3 separate regions of the Homo sapiens genome follow, and all the other regions are linked to region 3. Evidence: promoter capture Hi-C in 16 types of primary human blood cells and fetal thymus (Javierre and others, 2016). All regions are on one chromosome and are shown on one strand. The core of a region is centred on a gene start or on the middle of the fragment in contact, and the rest is flanking DNA. Distances in the headings are between cores, read along the strand shown. Region 1 overlaps LINC02176 (long intergenic non-protein coding RNA 2176). Region 2 overlaps LOC124903735 (a long non-coding RNA gene). Region 3 holds the start of USP10 (ubiquitin specific peptidase 10).

Evidence for each region. Contacts are between HindIII fragments. The CHiCAGO score rates a contact against its expected background, and 5 or more counts as called.
Region 1: a contact is called between a fragment that was not itself captured here and the fragment with the promoter of USP10 in region 3, in 1 of 17 cell types (neutrophils). The highest score is 5.4, in neutrophils.
Region 2: a contact is called between a fragment that was not itself captured here and the fragment with the promoter of USP10 in region 3, in 11 of 17 cell types (naive B cells, total B cells, non-activated CD4 T cells and 8 more). The highest score is 9.5, in naive B cells.

What each region holds. Positions count from the first base shown.
Region 1 is chr16:84,939,297-84,943,430 of GRCh38, reverse strand. LINC02176 (long intergenic non-protein coding RNA 2176) reads right to left here. Exons shown (of 4, transcript XR_933830.2): 3 at 1,474-1,572; 4 at 374-531. Among named protein-coding and RNA genes, the nearest start is that of LINC02176, 13 kb to the right of the region's middle. The HindIII fragment of the contact is 1,735 bases long and covers 1,200-2,934 here.
Region 2 is chr16:84,516,276-84,520,443 of GRCh38, reverse strand. It overlaps LOC124903735 (a long non-coding RNA gene), which reads right to left. Exons shown (of 2, transcript XR_007065148.1): 2 at 2,114-2,277. Among named protein-coding and RNA genes, the nearest start is that of MEAK7, 14 kb to the right of the region's middle. RefSeq lists a silencer at 425-504. The HindIII fragment of the contact is 2,435 bases long and covers 255-2,689 here.
Region 3 is chr16:84,697,936-84,701,730 of GRCh38, reverse strand. USP10 (ubiquitin specific peptidase 10) reads right to left here and starts at 1,731. Exons shown (of 14, transcript NM_005153.3): 1 at 1,620-1,731. The coding sequence starts at 1,640. RefSeq lists silencers at 1,160-1,269, 1,310-1,419, 1,430-1,649, 1,740-2,259. The HindIII fragment of the contact is 5,859 bases long and covers 931-3,795 here.

The DNA of each region.
Region 1 (4,134 bases), core at 818-3,317, 240 kb before region 3:
CAACTGTGGTCTGTGTGACGGAATATTATTCAGCCATAAAAAGGGATGAAACAGGCGGGTGTGGTGGCTCAAGCCTGCAATCCCAGCACTTTGGGAGGCTGAGGTGGGCAGATCACTTGAGGTCAGGAGTTCAAAACCAGCCTGGCTGACATGGCGAAACCCCATCTACTAAAAATACAAAAATTAGCCAGGTGTGGTGGCGGGCACCTGTAATCCCAGCTACTCAGGAGGCTAAGGCAGGAGAATCGCTTGAACCTGGGAGGCAGAGGTTGCAGTGAGCCAAGATCGCACCATTGTACTCCAGCCTGGGCATCAGAGTGAGACTCCATCTCAAAATAAATTAAAAAAAAAAAAAAAAAAAAAGGGATGAAACACCGATCCAGGTTATACAATGTGGATGAACCCTGATGCCATGGTGCTAAGTGAAAGAAGCCAGACGAAATGACCACATACTGTGTGACTCCATTGATAAGGAATGTCTAGGACAGGCCAGTCCATAGAGACAGAAAGCTGACTGGAGGCTGCCAGGAGCTGGGGGAGACAGAAATTAGGAGAAACTGCTTAATGGGTTTGGGGTTTCACTGTGGGATGAGGGAAGTGTTTTGGAGCTAGATAGGGGTGCTGGTTGTACAAAACTGTAAATGTACTGAATGCTGCTGGGGGCAGTAGCTCATGCCTGTAATCCTGGTGCTTTGGGAGGCCAAGGCGGGCAGATGTCTTGAACCCAAGAGTTCAAGACCAGCCAGGGACGCATGGCAAAACCCTGTCTCTACAAAATGTCAGCCAAGCGTGGTGGCATGTGTCTATAATCCCAGCTACTTAGGAGGCCGAGGTGGGAGGATTGCTTGAGCCTAAGAGGTTGAGGCTGCAAAAAAAAAAAAAAAAAAAGTACCAAATGCCAATTAATTGATCACTTTAAAATGGTTATTTTTATGTTATATGATTTCACCTAAATAAATTAGTTTTAAAACCCTAAAAACAAAACACCACAGTGGACAAGGCAGAACCAGGAGGACCAGTTGGCAAATCAGACAAAAAGGAGGGCAGAGGGGTGGGGTGGGGAGGAACCTGGGGTGTGCAGACAGTTAGGGTGACAGGCGCCATCCGAATGGTGGGGTCAGCAGGAGAGGAGAGGAGAGAGATGCCCAGCGTCTGGAGGAAGGGTGGATGAATCTAAAGCACAATGGGCTCCAGAAGCTTCTGGAAGGAGAGAGGACCTGTTTATGTGTTGGGTCTGCGGTGCCAGAGGGCCTCTCGGGCGGGGAGCTCATGTGAGTGTCTCCCACTGAATGAGTCAGGCGGAGAGTATGTTGGAAAAATACGCTGACATGTCCTGCGGTGTCAAACCATCCCTGGCCCAGCCACTGTGTCACTCAGCCCAAGGGCAGATGGGGAAATGTGCCTGTTGAGGTGCGAGTGGGGTGGGGAGAAGGTCACCCTAGTCCATCTGGGTTGCGGGGCGGGTGTGCTCACCTCAAAAGAAAAGTCTGGTCCAGGAATCCCAGTTGTCTGGATAGCGGTGTGTCTCCCATTTTACTAGGGGGAGGATGCAGATCCAGAGAGGTCCGGGTCCTGGGGAGTGAGGGGCGAGTCAGGTCTGCCTGGCCTCTACACTCATGCCCTTGTCTTTATTTCATGCTCAGCCCCTCATCACATAGGTACCGTTCGGAAGCACGTTCTAGAAAGTCCCCTCCTAAAAGTGGACACGGTTTGGGAGCAGGAGGAGGAAGCCTCGGCGGTGAGGAACGCTCACGGCAGGAAGGCGTGAAGGAGCCGCGCTCAGCAACTGCTGCAGCTCCGGTTTGGAACCAGGGCTGTCGGGGAGTTGAGCGTCTCTGGGTCTCGCTTCAGGTGTTCATCAAGGCACAGGCAAAAGCCACTTACTGGGGAAGGGGGTTGGGAAGAGCAGGCCCCGAAGTCACACTTGAGTTGGGATAATTTAGGGAGCGCTCAGGAAAAGGACTGTGCTCAAAGGTGCAGGGATGCGTGGGCTCCGGGACACCGCAGGCGGCGCACGGGCAGCACCAGGGCCGGCAACGGCAGGAGCGCCCAGCACTGAGGCCCGAGGGTAAGGTTGGGGACACGGGACGCAGCTGGCCCATGCGGCCCTGCAGAGAGGGAATTGGGGGAGTGGATGCGACTCAGCTCCTCCAGCCCTCTCCAGTCTCTTGCAGACACCTCCCACCTGCCAAACGCCTCCAGAGGCCGGGGGCAGCTGGTCCTACAGGGGGTTTCCCAAGGCCGGCATCCCTGGGTGGGGAAGCGTGGACGTGGGCCCCAGGCTGTGTGTGTGGACTTCAGGTGACACTGGATGGCATTCCGCAGCCCTGAGCCCCCCTCACGCACATGATCACACACGGGGGGTCCTGGCCGCCTCTCAGGAGGGGCCTCTCATCCTGCTGTTTGTAAACTTCAGAAAGCCAAACAGTCCCTTAGAGAAGCCAGGCCTGGATTTGCTCCGGACATCTGGAACAAGTTACCCTATTTCCCAATCTCTGCTGATCGTTCCCCGCTGCGGGAATGCTGCCCTCGGCCGACAGGGACGAGGACCTGTGGAGAGTGGCAGCCCCCACAGGCCGAGGCTGGCAAGGCGGGCACGGGGGCCGGGGCTCTGGTGGAAATGTCACATTTGAGGCAGCTCTCACAAGGGCCCTGTCTGATGCGAGGCCAGGCCTAGAGAGGATGGTGGAGACTGTGCGTGTGCAGGGTGTTCCGGAACCTTCCCTGGGATGCATGGGGCCTCGCCGCAGGCCATCTCTCCAGACCTGGACTCACCCTGCCCCTGTGCTGTTGCCTTTGTCTGGAATTCCACCCCAGCCTTCTTGCCTCAAGAACGCCCTTCCCCCTTCAGATCTCATGGGCACAGTCCCCGTCTTCCTAAACGGGGTCAGAGCCCCCAGTAATCATGACAAAGACCCTCTCCTCGATCAAGCTTTGGTCAGGCTCCTCCAAACCCTCTTCTCCAGGAGGCCTTGGCCTGGGGGCTTCTGCACTTGTCTTGGCTTTTTCCAGTTTTAGCAAGAACCCAGAGTCAATTAGGAAAACTCCCCGACCCCCGACGCGTGAGCAGTTCCTCGCCTGGCACTGCCCCTCGGGGGTGTCTGTTCACCTGGCCTGCCTTCGGCGAGAGTCCTGTTCCATCGGTTTAGCCAGAACTTCCCCCCACACCTAATGCTTCCTCTTAGTCATTTTCTTTTTTTGAGACGGAGTCTCGCGCTATCACCTTGGCTGGAGCACAGTGGCGCGATCTCAGCTCACTGCAACCTCCGCCTCCCAGGTTCAAGCGATTCTCCTGCCTCAACCTCCCAAGTAGCTGGGATTACAGGTGTGTCCCACCAAGCCTGCCTAATTTTTGTATTTTTAGTAGAAACAGGGTTTCACCATGTTGGCCAGGCTGGTCTTGAACTCCTGACCTCCAGTGATCCACCTGCCTCGGCCTCCCAAAGTGCTGGCATTACAGGCATGAACCACTGCGCCTGACCTCCTCTTAGCCATTTTCCATCCACTGAACCTCTGCTCCAGGTGACATCCCCACTCATCACCGCTGTATTCAGACCAGAGCCCAGGTCTACACCGAGGTCTCTTCTCTCATTTCAACAGTTCCTCAATAAAATCTGCTTTTACTGCTCACCTATTTTCTGGCTCTGGTTTCTTCGATAGTCGCATGGTCTGTCTCTCCTGCTGTCAGCGCCGGGTGGGCAGGGCTGTGTGTGTTCAGTTCCTGCTTGTCCATACCTTGTATATGGTGGAAGCTCCATAGAGAATTTTTTGAATAGGCCAGGTGCGGTGGCTAACACTTCTAATCCCAGCACTTTGGGAGGCCGAGGAGGGTGAATCACTTGAGGTCAGGAGTTTGAGACCAGCCTGGCCAACATGGTGAAACCCCATGTCTACTAAAAATACAAAAATTAGCTGGGCATGGTGGCAGGAGCTTGTAATCCCAGCTACTCAGGAGGCTGAGGCAGGAGAATCGCTTGAACCCGGGAAGTGGAGGTTGCAGTGAGCCGAGATTGCGCTACTGCACTCCAGCCTGGGCCACAGAGGAAGACCCTGTATCCAAAAAAAAAATTTTTTTTTGAATAGATGGATGGATAACTGGAAACCCTGATACAGGGTTTTTCTTTACTCAGTTTC
Region 2 (4,168 bases), core at 223-2,722, 180 kb after region 3:
CAAGTGTTGTACATAAAAGCAAAAGACGGAGCAACTGAAGTGCCTCTCAACGGGAATTGGCTCAATAAATTATTATCGACTTAGACAGTGGCAGGTTAGGAAAACGTAGATTGGCGTGAGCTCCTAATATATTGTTAAACGAGAAAAAAGTCAAGGAGTAAGACAGTCGTCTGCTTCCCGTGTGTCCATGTTTAAAGGCTGTAGGTGGAGGTGAATATGCACCTCTAGAACTTTGGGAAAATCCACGGGAAGCTTCTCGTGGCGGTTGCCTCCAGGGAGCAGGTCTGGAGGAGGTGGAGAGGAAGTTGCCTTTTTCTTAAGTCTTTAGGACTTTTTGAAAATGTTACTGTGTTTGCGGATGATGAAGGAAACTCCCAGGTCAGGGGCTGTGGTTGTGGGATTTTGTTTCTTTACACCTTGTTGTAGACAGAGCTGATCACACTGAAACCCCTGTGGGTTGGTCCGGGGGCTGCCTGAGTGCACACAGCGTGGGGCCTGCACGTCTTCTCGTCCGGGTTCTCACTCTCAAGCCTGCATCGGAGCCCCCAGGACGGCTCCTCAAAATGCAGTCAGCAGCCCACTCCAGGAATCTCTGACCCAAGAGCTGTGTGTGCGGCTTGAGGATTTTTGTAGTTTAACAAGTTCCTAAGGGGCTGCTGTGAGTCAAAACCCACACTGAGGACCAGAGCTGCCGGGGTTCCAGCCCTGGTGTTGGGTATTTCTCTCTCCAAATAACTTACTACCCTTTCCCCGCAAAACAGCAGGCGGCAGATGAGGGTCCATCCTTTGTGCCGAAACCCCTATTAACCTCAATAGGGAAGGCACCAGGTTCAAGAGGCCAACGAAGAGACTCAGAGACAGTGAACGAGACACAGGTTTTACTGCGGCGTACGGACAGGGGAGAGCGGGCTGCACAGGAGAGCCACGGCCGTCTGCAAACATCGTGCAGTTTACCCAGCATTTTCATTTAACCCCCTCCCCCTAACGGCCTCCACCTGGCAACCTGCATTTAACCAAAAACTCAGGGCCTCAACCTCCTGTACAGCTCGTGTTCCACGGGCCAGGCTGGGGTTGGGGTGGGGGAGAGGGAACTGAGGCTCAGATGTGTCTCATAGACAAGGAACGGATCTCGGGGTTGGCCAACCCAGATTCCCTAGCTCGGAACATGCATCCGCGTGCATCTGCCATCCAGGGTCATCCCCACCTTCTCAGGTACACTTCAGTGACTGTCCTCAGGCGCCCTACACCACCTGGCTGCTGTTTCCTGGTTAACCAGGAGAGCAGCTTCGTGACTCCACGCTGGCCTTGCCTGCAGTGTAGTCTCAGTTTTAAAAGCACCCACACCTGAGCCCCGCCCAGACCTGGGACATCGGAATCGTTAGTGTGGGCTCCGCCATGGGTATTTTTAAGAAAACCACAGGTGAACTTTGGATAGGGACTGTGGATTCATTTCCTAGGTCTGCTGTACCACAAACTGCGGGCAGGGGGTTAAAATCACCAGAAATCGACTTCCTCACAGCTCTGGATGCCACAAACCCAAAGTCAAGGTGTCAGCAGGGCTGGTGCATCTCGAGGCCTGTGGACGCTGTCTTCCTGTGTGACTCTTCACAATACCTTCCCTCCGTGCATGGCTGTCTCTGTCCAATGAAAAAGAAAAAAAGGCCATGCATGGTGGCTCCTGCCTATAATCCTAGCACTTTAGGAGGCCAGGGCGGGTGGATCACCTGAGGTCAGGAGTTCAAGACCAGCCTGGCCAACATGGCAAAACCCCAGCTCTATTAAAAATATACAAAAAAAAAAAAAAAAAAATTAGCCAGGCGTGGTGGTGTATGCCTGTAATCCCAGCTACTCAGGAGGCTAAGGCAGGAGAATCGCTTGAATCTGGGAGGCAGAGGCTGCAGTGAACCGAGATCTCACCACTGCACTCCAGCCTGGGCAACAGAGTGAGACTCCACCTCAAAAAAAAAAAAAAAAAATACCAGTCACACTAGATCATAGGCCCAGTACCCTGCTGTGACCTCATCTTAACTAATTCCATCTGCAATGACTCTATTTTCAAATAAGTCACATAGTCATATCCTGGGGCACTGGGAGAAAGACTTTAACACATGAATTTTGTGGAGGGATAGAATTTAATCCAATGAGACTGAATATAAGGTTTGCTTCTGGGCTGGGCGGAGCAGCTCACACCTATAATCCCAGCACTTTGGGAGGCTGAGGTGGGTGGATCACTTGAGTCCAGGAGTTCCAGACCAGCCTGGGCAACTTGGCAAGACCCTGGAAAATAAAATAAAAATCAGCCAGGTGTAGTGGCATGTGCCTGTAGTCCCAGCTACTCGAGAGGCTGACGCGGGAGGATCACTTGAGCCCAGGAAGTGGAGGCTGCAGTGAGCTATGATTGCACCACTGCACTCCAGCCTCAATGACAGCGAGACCCTGTCTCCAAAAAAATAGTTTGTTCCTCCAACCATCATGAGTACATGAAGTACTCAGACCTTGTGAAGGTGCGGATTCTGATTCAGGAGGTCTGGGGTAAAGCCGGGAGACTCTGCATTACCAACCAGAGTCCAGCAATTGACGCTCAGGTTCTATGACAAAATGATTGTTAATGTTGTTAGATGCATTGACAGTTCTGTGGTTAGTACAACGGCATCATTTTTTAAAAAATGCGTCAAATATGTTGAAAGCTTAAATGTCAGAATTGACCCACTTCGAACATTCCAACGAACAGTAGGAAAGGGCAGAATGTTAGCAATGGCTGAGTCTGGGTGGTGGGTATAAAGAGGGCTTGTTTTTTTAGTCTGGTTTTCCGCATATTAGACGTTTTTCATAATCTCTTTGGAAAAGCTTTCCAGCGCCTGGGGCTGAGTATCTCTGGGACGGGCCCTGGGGGATGGGTCTCGTGGGGCCTGGTATCAGTTCCCAGCTGGCGGTCGAGTTCTCTAGGGGAACAGGGCCTGCATGTAGCAGTATTTTTATTATTTTCAACCGCAGTCGCTTCTTCCTGTTGCCTTCTGGGTACTGGGAGGCACCCGGGAAGAGCTGGGATTCTGGGGTCCCCCAGTATGGTTTACCTGCTCTGGGGCAACAGGGACAATTTGGGTTTCTAAGCAACATTCTGGCTGGGTGCCGTGGCTCATGCCTGTAATCCCAGCACTTTGGGAGGCCGAGGTGGGCAGATCACCTGAGGTCAGGAGTTCGAGACCAGCCTGGCCAACATGATGAAACCCCATCTCTACTAAAAATACAAAAATTAGGTGGGTGCGGTGGTGGACCCTGGTCATCCCAGCTACTTGGGAGGCTGAGGCAGGAGAATTGCTTGAACCTGGGAGGTGGAGGTTGCAGTGAGCCGAGATCGCGCCATTGCACTCCAGCCTGGGCGACAGAGTAAGACTCCATCTCAAAAAAAAAAAAAAAAAAAATTCTTTGTTTCTGCTGTTTATTTGCTGACAGTGCATGCGTTTCTTTTCCTTACTGTGTGTGGGGGAGTCTGTGCCATGTTCTTAAGTCCTCTCCCTTGCTGTTTTTATTTAACCCCTTCTGGGTCCCAACTCTACCTGGCGGTGCTTGTGGACTGACCCTTCTCACTACTAGCCCGTGTGTGAGCCTTTACAGGGCATCTCCTCTCCCTCTGGAGGACATGGTCTCTCTCGCTGCCTCCTGTGTCCCCTGCCTTTACGTGATGCCCAGCACATAGGCACTCAAGTGTGCCGAACAGTGACTCTTACAGGTCTGGTCTACTCCCACGGAGCCTAGCTCAGGGAGGTTAATTAACCCATCCAAAGCAACCGAGCTGTGGTCTGAACTTCGGAGCCGGTGCTGTCCAACATCCAAATACAGACAATGGAGGTAGAACACAAGCCCTGTGTGCGATTCTAAGGTTTTCATTGTTCATGTTTTAAAACGAGAAATGGTAACATTAATATGCTTTGAACCTAATATAGCCAAAATACTATTTCTACATGGAATTTCTATTTCACAATTATTTTGGGGCAACATGGAAGAGATCATCGTGGTGATGGAACACTTCTGTATCTTCAGCATAGATGGAATAGTTGTGTTTTGTAGTGATGGTCACACGACTCTACTACCCTCGTGGGGAAATGACAGAATTGGACACACACATTGATTGCATCAATGTCTCTTTCCCAGTTTGGATTAGGTGAGT
Region 3 (3,795 bases), core at 482-2,981:
CAAACGAAATTACAATTAAGTTTACATATTATCCATCCCCATTAATTAACATTTCAATCAACCTTGAATTGTGATTGATGCTTATTAAATAAAGGAAGTGAGCTATGCCTAAAGATGCTTTCTTCATGTCAAAATCACAAGGAATATTACACATTAATTCATAATGAGCCTTTTACTTGTTCATACCAATTCTAATAAGCTAGTTAATTAGGATTTAAGTTGAGAAAAAAGCAAATATCAAATCTTTTTTTTTAACAGAAAGGTCTAAACAAAGCTAAATACACCAAATCTCTTAAAATCTTTGGGCTATACATTTGTAAAAATTATTCAACTACTGATCCCTTTTTTGGCGCAAAGACCTACACTACTTACAAAAGTAAATGAATAAGGGAACAAAACGTTAAAGGGGGAAATTCTGATGCAAACTAAACTACAGCTAATTTAACAAAATTGAAGCTTGTCGTAAGATCTAATTTTTTAAAAAGTTTTCGCATTTTAGATTCCACAACACGCATTCATTACAATAGTTCCGAAAATCATGTTTCAAAAGAGGTGTAGTCAGATTGACTTCATCTGCAGAAGGGCAACAAAACCCAATTGCTCATGAAGGGTTATGATTTTACTCGCAATCAGTTTCCCGAATGGCTACTTTGTTTCATTTCCCCATATTTAATACAAATACACAATGAGATGGTTTAAAAGTGTGCAACAATTTATAGGGACCAGATGTCAACAAATTAGCAGTCTAAAGCAAGGCTGACAAATAATACATCATGCCGATTTTTGTCCAGAATAATTATAATGGCGGAGGGGGGAGAAGATGTGAGAGAAGGGGTGGGAGAGGGGAATAAGAGCTTAACTCTACACGCACATCTCCCAAAAAGAGCTCTTTCTTTCCACCACGGGATTATTGTAAAGGGCCCCCAAGCTTTAGCTACTGTTCAGGCAGGGTGCGTTAGTTGTCAGCCTGGCTGGGATGGATTCGTGCAAGGGATGTCACTCAAACGCAAGTGAAAGTACGGTCCTTGCGACTTATTTCGAGTTTTCTTTGCAACAGCAGCCCAAGGCCGCTACTCTGCTACTTCTATCTAAAAAACAGAAAATCGGCAACCCCCGCATCATCAATCAAGCTGAGAAAGGAAGCTCTTGGGGCAAAGGGGCAACAGGGCACCCCCAAATCTCTGAGGCTCGCTCCAGGCAGAGGCAGCAACCTGAGCTGCTCTGGGGCCCCTGCGCTCCAGGGGACTCCCGGAGCCCCCGGGCCGCCTCCCCCGGCCGGCGCGGCGGGGAGGGCCCCACTCCACACCCCGGGCTCGCCCCGCGGTCCAGCCCCAGGGAGGTTAACCCCTTCGGCGCCCTCCACGCCCTCCCCAAGCGGGGCCCGGAGCCCCCGCCCTTCGACCTCCCCGGGACTAGGGGGTCCGGGTGGCTCAGGGGACGAAGGCGCGGCGGGCGCGGAGGCGGCGGGTGGCTCCGGCCTAGGCCCGGGCAGCGTGTCCCAGCGCCCTCCCCCACTCCCACACGCTCGCTCCGGGCAGGGCGCGGACGCCCGCCCGCCGCGGCGTCCGCCCGCCCGGGGCTCGGGCCCCTTCCGGCCGAAGGCGCAGACCGGCGGCTACCTGCGGGCTGTGGAGGGCCATGGCTGCCCGTTTCATTGGGACTCCGCGATCCTCCGGCTGCTCACGCTGCTTCCCCCGCCGCCGCCATCTTCTCGCCCGCACATACACACTCGCATCGGCCGCCGCGCCTGCGCACTGGCCGCGCGCCGCGGGGCGCGGGGAGGCCGGCCCGCTGCTGCGCCTGCGCGGCCGACAGGTGGGCGTGCGCCTGCCGGGCCGCGGACATCCCCTGCCCCGCCTGGAGCCTGCCGGACTCTGAGCCCCGCGACCCTCGGGCGGAAGCGGCCGGGCGGCTGCACACCAGGAGCCCGCCGAGGCCTGGCTGTGGATCCGGAAGGGGAGAGGGCAGGCAGGTAGAGGTGGCAACGCCAAGGCGCCGGCGGGCCCGGCTCCTCACCTACTGGGGGCCACCTGGGCCCCCGGAGCCCGGGAGTCGCGGGCTGAGGTCGGCCTGGGGCCCACGAGCCGCCCTCAGCGTACCTGGGCCCGGGCCTCGGGAGTGTTCGCATTAGATCCCCGAGGAGGGTCTGGTTTATGAAGATCCCGTTGCCGCGCATTCATTCATTTGTTCACTCTTCATTCACTCCCCAAGTCCTGCCTGGGCGCCTGGGCCACGCCTTTGGCTAGGCATTAGGGGAAAAAAGCAAAACAGACAAAAACAAAACGTAGGGCATAAAAGCACGCGTAAAGTGCTTGACATGAGGCCTGGCAAGTAGCAAACACTCAGCAAGTGCTACGTGTTGCACACGTGCGTGCGTGTGCACGGGCAAACCAGCCTTGGGGGTCGTTGGTTCATTCATTATTAAGAAACAGGGGCCCCTGCCTAACTGCACTGTTTTCCAGCCAGTGGGTCCACCCTTGGGTTTTGGCCCCTTTTCTAGCTGTGATTTCAGACAAGCGACTTTCCTTCCCTAAGCCTTGGTTTCCTCACCTGTGAATAAGACAAATATGTCATAACGCGTAAGATTTCTGTGAGGTTCAAATTAGATTAACGTGAGCACACTGGCCAAGAGAATAGTCAATAAAAATTGGCTACTGGGATTGTTATTAATAACCATTACTATTGGTTTCATTTATTCAACAAACACCTACAGAGAGTCTGCTCTTGCTAGACCGTACACTGAGCAGAGGAGATGAACAGGAAGATCCATTCCCACGTTACATAAAATAGGGAGCCTGGTCTCTTCATAAATGGGATGCCATGAAAAATATAAGTGGGCCAGGCGCAGCGGCTCACACCCGGAATCCCACACATTGGGAGGCCGAGGCGGGCGGATCACTTGAAGTCAGGAGTTGGAGACCAGCCTGGCTAATATGATGAAACCCCAACTCTACTAAAAATACAAAAATTGGTGGGATGTAGTGTGGCACACCAGGCGTCCCAGCTACTCAGGAGGCTGAGGTGGGAGGATCACTTGAACCCCGGAGACGGAGGTTGCGGTGAGCCGAGATCGTGCCACTGCACTCCAGCCTGGGTGACAGAGCGAGTCTCTGTCTCAAAAAAAAAAAAAGAAAGAAAGAAAGAAAGAAAAGAAAAGAAAAATATAAGTGGTAGGGAGGGGTTGTTCCAAAATAGAAGAGCTAGAAAACATAACCAAATACAATGTGTCATCTTGCTTGGATCCTGATATGTCTTTTAAGCTGGTTTTACTATTTGTTGACAATTGGAGACATTTGAATATGGATTGGATATGGGTGATCTTCGTGAATTATTGGTAATTTTATAGTGTAATAATTATACTGTGCTCACTGAGAGAATGTCCTTATTGTGAGGAGATGCATTCTGAAGAGTTGAGGAGTGAAGGCCATAATGCCTGTAAACTATTGTTTAATGGTTCAACAAAAGATAAAATCATGTACACACATAAACATTCAGGGAGAGACAGCAAATATGGCAAAATGTTTACTATTGTTGGCTCTAAGTAGTGCTATATATTTCAGCTTTTCTCTATGTTTGAAAATTTTTATAACAAAAAATTGGGGAAAACAATACAATATAGTGTCTGTGCTATAATTTTAACCATGGAAAAGCGATATCTGCACTTGGATAGAAACTGGGGGACGTGAAAACTCACTAGTGATTTATGGTTGTCTCTCTGGCTCGGTGCGGTGGCTCACACCTGTAATCTCAGCACTTTGGAAGGCTGAGGTGGGTGGATCACCTGAGGTCGGGAGT